Regions from separate parts of the Homo sapiens genome. Here region 2 is linked to region 1. Evidence: promoter capture Hi-C in human tissues and cell types (Jung and others, 2019). All regions are on one chromosome and are shown on one strand. The core of a region is centred on a gene start or on the middle of the fragment in contact, and the rest is flanking DNA. Distances in the headings are between cores, read along the strand shown. Region 1 holds the start of PSMG3 (proteasome assembly chaperone 3). Region 2 overlaps MAD1L1 (mitotic arrest deficient 1 like 1).

Region 1 (3,498 bases), core at 339-2,838:
CCTGACCACTTTATTATTATTATTATTATTATTATTATTAAAGACAGAGTCTTGCTCTCTCACCCAGGCTGGAGCGCAGTGGCACAATCATGGCTCACTGCAGCCTCAACCTCCAGGGCTCAAGCCATCCTCCCACCTCAGCCTCCCAAGTAGCTGGGAGCACAGGCACACACCACTAGGCCCAGCTAATTTTTTGTTTCCTTTTCTTTTCCTTTTTTTTTTAAGACCAAGTCTCTATCTGTTACCCAGGCTGGAGTGCTGTGGCACGATCTTAGCTCACTGCAACCTCCGCCTCTCGGGTTCAAGCGATTCTTCTGCCTCAGCCTCCTGAGTAGCTGAGATTACAGGCATGTGCCACCACACCCAGCTAATTTTTATATTTTTCGTAGAAATGGGGTTTCCCCATGTTGGCCAGGCTGGTCTGGAACTTCTGACCTTAAGTGATCTGCCCGCCTCAGCCTCCCAAAGTGCTGGGATTACAGGTGTGAGCCACTGCACCCAGCCTCTCTCTATATATATATTTTGTGTAGGCACTTGTTTTTTTGTAGTGACTTGTGTGTGTGTTGTTGTGTTGCCCAGGCTGGTTTCAAACTCCTGGCCTCAAGCGATCTGCCCGCCTAGGCCTCTGAAAGTGCTAGGGTTACAGGCGTGAGCCACAGTTCCCGGCCAATCCACTTTACCTCATCCTGCCCCAGAAGGACTTTTGTGGTGAGCACAGGCTTGCTGACGTCACTGGCCACGCTGCTGGGCTCCAGGGAGACCAGGGTGCCCATCTTCCCAAACTGGGTCACCACCACCAGGATGTGACTGCTGAAGGCCGTACACACCACCTGGGTGGGGACCCCGCACACCACCTCCGTCTTCTGCTTCGATATCACCAACGGCGTGTCTTCCATGGCGGGGCTCTGCAGTGGCAGCTTTAATTTAGGTTAAAAAGAAAGGGGAAAAAAAGGAGTCAATCAAACAGTACAGCCTTGGGGCTCCCAAAAAAGTAGCACGGGGCATTGAAACGGAAACGCAAGGAGGCCCATTCAAAAGAAGGGGCCAGGCGCGGTGGCTCATGCCTGTCATCCCGGCACTTTGGGAGGCCGAGACAGGACGATCGTTGAGGCCAGGAATTCGAGACCAGCCTGGCCAACATAGCGAGACCCCCATCTCTACCAAAAAAAAAAAAAAAAAAAACCAGCAGGGCGCGCCTGTGGTCCCAGTTACTCAGGAGGCTGAGGCGGGAAGATCGCTTCAGCCCGGGAGGTCGAGGCTGCGGTGAGCCGTGATCACACCATTGCATTACAACCCGGGCGGTAGAGCGAGACCCTGTCCGTAAAAAAATAAAACAGAAGCAGGAGCGGGGCCGCCCATAGAGACCGCGCCTGGGGCTTTCTGGGTTAGGGGATCGACTTGCACGTTCACACTGCCAGGCCGGGCAGTGGCTTCCCGCCCCTCGGCCTCGCCGCCGCCCCGGCCCTGCAGCCGCGGCCCGGGACCCCCACGACACGCGGTGCCGAGGCCGGCCGGGCTACTGGGGACGCAGCCGCCCGGGGAAGCCCGCGGGTACCCGCGCTCACCAAGCCGGCGCCGCGCCCGGAAGTGGCTCTGCGTGCGCCACGCGGGCCCGCCCCGTCCGCGGGTTCCGTCCACCTTCCGGAAGTCAGGGCCGCGGCGCTTCTGGTCCCGGAGACTTGGGGCTCCCGGGCTTCTGAGCGGCTCGGGTTCCGCGCTGCCGGCAGGGCTTGGGGGCGCCTTAGAGCCGAACCCCGTTTTTTCAGGAAAGGGCGCTGCGACCACCCCCGTCCCGGGCCTCAGCCCCTCTGCTGCAGACCCTCGGGATCGTCGCTGGTAGGAGCTCTGTCCCCCGTGTCTGTGTCCAGGACCCCCGAAGCGCCGCGCCTAGGAACCCCCTAGCGCTGGGAGCCCGGCCCTGCTCGACCACGGGCTTTGGGCTGGAGGCGTCATCGTCGCCACAGCGAACGCTTATTTGGCACCGAGTGTCCGCCAGGCATCGCTCTAAGCGCTTTATACCCATAACTCACTTCATCTCAGCCACCCGGTTCCGTAGAAGCGTTTCATCCGCGTTTTACAGACGTGTGCAGGTGCAGAGAGCTCGGCCAGGCTCAGGCGGCGGGCGGGCTGGGGTGGGCTCCGACCGTCCCTCGGGCGCTCCGTGACACGAAGCCCCGGCCAAGGCCAAGAAGGGGGCCAGCCCCACCCTGAAGCGGGATGAGTTCTGGTTCCTCCCAGGGACCCCCTCACTCCCTACTGCTCACTCTCAGTTTCTCCAAGCTGGAAGGTTTTTTGTTTTGTTTTGTTTGAGACGGAGTCTTGCTGTGTCACCCAGGCTGGAGTGCAGTGGCGCGATCTCGGCTCACTGCAGCCTCCGCCTCCCTGGTTCAAGCAATTCTCCTGCCTCAGCCTCCTGTGTAGCTGGGATTACAGGCGTGCGCCACCAGGCCCGGCTAACTTTTTAAATTTTTAGTAGAGATGGGGTTTCACCATGTCGGTCAGGCTGGTCTTGAACTCCTGACCTCAGGTGATCTGCCTTCCTCGGCCTCCCAAAGTGCTGGGATTACAGGCGTGAGCCACCGCGCCCCGCTGCTGGAAGTTTTATTGGTAGGGTCGGACATCTTGGTAGCAGAGGCTGAAAGTGATTGGAGCCTCCAGAGCCTTCCTCGGGGTGGGGCGTTTAACATCCCTTCAGAACCCCACCCTCGGAGGCCTTACTGTCGTTTCCTGACAACCATGTCAAGGCCGTATTTTCTGTCTATATTACCAGAAAGGGGTCCCGATCCAGACCCCAAGAGAGAATTGAGGGCGAGTCCACAAAGTGAAAGCAAGTTTATTAGAAAAGTAAAGGAATTGAGGCAGGAAAACAGGGTCTGGAGGCAGGGAACACTTCAGCTATGACAGGAAATACCCTCTCCATAGGGTGTACACTGAGTAAATGATTTTGTAACTTTATTTCATCCTCTTTATTTACATAGGGCGTACACCAAGTAACCAGTAGAAACCCCTAGAGGGTATTTAAACCTCACAAGTTCTGTAATGGGGCCCTGAGCCTCTATGCTTTGGCCGCCCCCACACCATGGAATGTACTTTCATTTTCAAAAAATTTCTGCTTTTGTTGCTTCATTCTTTTTTTGCTTTGTGCATTTTTTTTTTTTTGAGACAGAGTCTCTGTTGTCCATGCTGGAGTGCAGTGGCGTGATCCTCACTGCAACCTCTGCCTCCCGGGTTCAAGCAATTCTCCTGCCTCAGCCTCCTGAGTAGCTGAGATTACAGACGTGCGTCACCATGCCCGGCTAACTTTTGTGTTTTTAGTAGAGACGAGGTTTCGCCATGTTGGCCAGGCTGGTCTTGAACTCCTGACCTCAGGTGATCTGCCCGCCTCGGCCTCCCAAAGTGCTGGGATTATAGGTGTGAGCCACCGCGCCCGGTGGCTTTGTGCATTTTGTCCAATTCTTTGTTCAAGATGCCAAGAACCTGGACACCCTCCACCAGTAA
Region 2 (3,498 bases), core at 548-3,047, 580 kb after region 1:
CAGTGACAGAGCTCTCTTCTGAAGTGCTGGGCGCCCACAGATGGCACACGCACCAGGCAGTCTCCTACGTCACCCAGGAAGGCCTCTGTCTCATGTCATGGGGTCAACGCCTCATTCTGGCACTGATGGGCCACAGGAGAAACCTGAGTACTCTGGAGCCCCGGGGCATCCATCTCCATCACCCAAGGAGCAGGCTGGCTCTCCACATTCCCACCGACTCTGCAGGAGGCTGCTTCCGGGTGGCTCCCCTGCACGCTCCTCCTTGCCTGAGGTGGGTGTGACCTGGAGTTGTCCTGCCCCAGGCAGGAACAGAGAGCATGGCTTGCCCTGAGGCAGAAGGCTGGCGCCTGAGGCGGATGGTCCCACACAGACCCCAGCCCTCGGGAGCACTGTCACGTGATGGGCTCTCAGCCTGGATACTTGCTGGCCACATCCCTAGGCCCCCAGATCCCTGCCGGCTCTCAGTCCCCATGCGACCAGGCCCCCATCATAGGGAGGACTGAAGCTGCAGGGCTTGCTATTCCAGAGCCCTCCAACCACAGGGGCAGCCGTGCCCAACACCTCCCACGGGCAGAAGCCGCTGGAGGGCACAGGGGCACCAGAAGGAATCCCTCCCTTCGCAGCCTCTTGCGCTGAAAAACCCGCAGTCACCACTTTGGCTAAACCAAGCCTCACGAGCCCTGTCTGGCCATTCTTGCTCATGACCAGGGTTCAGCTTCCACTCAAAAGCACAAGCACAGTGAGCTCGATGACAGCCTTCAAGAACGTCACACGGGACCAGTCTACTCTACTTGCAGAGACAGAGGGAAGGCCAGGACATCCTTAAAGGAAAAGGAGATGGACCCATGGGAGAAAACCTGGGTCTCAGCCCCAGCCCTGACCCCTCCAGGCTCAACTCCCTACCTGCTCGGCTGGGCTTCCTAAGGCTCACTTCCAAAACCCTACGGCACAGGTACAGTGCACTGCTATTACCTGACAATCCCTATGCCGTTAACTTTATGGATGTGGAAGGGACAGGGAGGCTGGAGGCTGTTTTCAGGGTGTGCAATCCAAGCCCATTTTCACACTGGCATTGGGAGGCCGGGAGAGGACATGCACCGTGGAGGCGGTGTCTGGATGTCGCCGGGGACATGAGGAGAAAACACTTCAAGTACAATCATCAACCAGCATGTTAAAAGTTGTGAAATTTTGTATACCCTTTGTTCGGCAGTGTCAATCAAAAGAAAATGTGTTCCCCATATACAAAAATCAACTGGAGATGGATTACAGGCTGAAACCTAAGACCCAAAAATATAAAAAATACTAAAGAAAACAAGGAAAACACTTCAGGACATTGGTCTAGGCAAAGATTTTATAGCTAAGACCTCAAAAGCACAGGCAACAAAAACAAAAATAGACAAATGGGACTACATCAAAGTAAAAAGCTTCTGCCCATCCAAGAAAACAATCAACAGAGTGAAGAGACAGCCTCTTGAATGCAGGAAAATATCTGTCAACTCTTCGGCCAATAAGGGACTAACATCCAAAATACAACTCAAAAGAAACTCAAATAACAACAATTAAAAAAACATAAATAATCCCACGAAAAAGTAGGCAAAGGACACAAAGAGACATTTCTCAAAGGATGACATGCAAATGGCCAACAGGTATATGAAAAAATGGTCAACATCACTAATCATCGGGGGAATTGCAAATCAAAACCACAATGAGATACCACCTTACCTCAGCTTAAAATGGCTAATAAACAGACCAAAAAACACACAGACAGATGCTGGTGAGGATGCAGAGGAAAGGGAACTCTCAGCTGCTGTTGGAAGGAATGTAAATTAGTACCACCGCTATGGAACCCAGTATGGAGATTTCTCAAAAAGCTGAAAACAGAACACCACCACATGATCCAGCAATCCCACCACTGGGTATTTACTCAAAGGAAATCACTGTATCAAAAAGATACCTGCATTCCCATGTTTATCACAGCAAAGATGGCAAAGATACGGAATTAACCTGTGTCTATCGACAGACGAATGGATAAAGAAAATGGGGATGTACACACAGTGGAATGCTATCCGGCCGTAAGAAAGAACAAGAGCTGGGCCGAGCGCGGTGGCTCACGCCTGTAATCCCACCGCTTTGGGAGGCCGAGGCAGGTGGATCAGGAGGTCAGGAGTTCGAGACCAGCCCGGCCAACATGGTGAAACTCCATCTCTACTAAAAATACAAAAATTAGCCAGGCGTGGTGGCACACGCCTGTAATCCCAGCTACTCAGGAGGCTGAGGCAGGAGAATCACTTGAACCAGGGAGTCAGAGGTTGTAGTGAGCCAAGATGACGCCACTGCACTCCAGCCTGGCAACAGAGCAAGACTCCATCTCAAAAAAAAAGAAAGAATGAGAGCCTGTCATTTGTAACAACGTGGCTGGAATGGGAGGTGACCGTGTCAGGTGAAACCACCAGGAACAGAAAGAAACTGCACGTCTTCACTCATGGGAGCTGTGGAAATTCACCTCCTAAAGGCAGAGAGTAGAATGACAGGAACTAGTGGATTGAAAGGTCTGGGTGAGCGGAACCACAGATGAAGAGAGTTGAGTTAATGGGTACGAACATACAGTTAGATGAAAGGTATAAATTCAGTTGTTCCACAGAAGAGGAGGGTGACTAGAGTTAACAGTGTATTGTATAATTCAAAGTAGCTAGAAGAGAACCAGAATTTTTCCCAATACGTGGAAATGATAAATACTCAAAGTGATGGTTACCCCAAATACCCTAAACTTGCCCATTCCACATTCTGTGCACGTAAGAAAATATCACAGGTACTCCATAAATATGTAAAATATTATGTATAAAAATAAATAAATGGTAAATAAATAAATAAAAGAAAATGGGCTCTCTGGGGATGAAGTGTATGAGCTTTAGCTAGTGGAAACAGAATGGGTTTAAGGCAATGGTTTCAGAGCACTCCATATCAGAAAAAGAAAAGATGAAATGGTTTTGCCAACATGTGGACATTTCTGAGGCCACAAAGGAGGTCCCATCAAGAACAAGGTGGAATCCGATCAAACGGGTCAGGAGGTCACCTCCTGAACTCTACAGGAAGCATTCCGGCGCCCTCTTCTCGTATTAACAGCAGCCTGTGGAGAAGGACGGAGGCCACCATCTGGAGTAAAGGACATACCCTTGAACCAAGCGGGGTGGGGAGGAGGAGCCCAGGAGGCTCTGGGCACGCGGAGGAGTCCACAGGGGTGGACTGTGAGCTCTCAGAGAGGCTTGCACGGAGAAGCAGCACGGGAGCCGGAGAGCCGCTCCTCCGGCTTGGGGCTTCTGTGGCCTGGCAAGAAGGCTTGCTACCTGAGGAAGACTGGACCCTCCAAAAGGACGAGGCTAAGAGAGCGAGCAAAGGGGGGTCCTCAGGCCTGACCTGCTGACCTGCCACGCTCTTCCAAGAGGACATCCTGAGGAAACCCAAGACAAGCACCACACCTGGCCACGGTGGCATCCTGCC

Evidence for each region. Contacts are between HindIII fragments. The study calls those that stand out against the background at their distance.
Region 2: a fragment that was not itself captured here is called in contact with the fragment with the promoter of PSMG3 in region 1 in 2 of the 25 tissues and cell types used here (dorsolateral prefrontal cortex and lymphoblastoid cells).

The regions. Positions count from the first base shown.
Region 1 is chr7:1,568,444-1,571,941 of GRCh38, forward strand. PSMG3 (proteasome assembly chaperone 3) reads right to left here and starts at 1,589. Exons shown (of 2, transcript NM_032302.4): 1 at 681-1,589. The coding sequence starts at 896. It overlaps PSMG3-AS1 (PSMG3 antisense RNA 1), which reads left to right and starts at 1,630. Exons shown (of 5, transcript NR_027329.1): 1 at 1,630-1,836. RefSeq lists silencers at 1,261-1,690, 2,131-2,210 and enhancers at 1,319-1,887, 2,511-2,580, 2,591-2,640. The HindIII fragment of the contact is 18,965 bases long and covers 1-2,545 here.
Region 2 is chr7:2,151,784-2,155,281 of GRCh38, forward strand. All of the region lies in intron 10 of MAD1L1 (mitotic arrest deficient 1 like 1), which reads right to left. Among named protein-coding and RNA genes, the nearest start is that of SNORA114, 64 kb to the left of the region's middle. The HindIII fragment of the contact is 4,469 bases long and covers 1-3,498 here.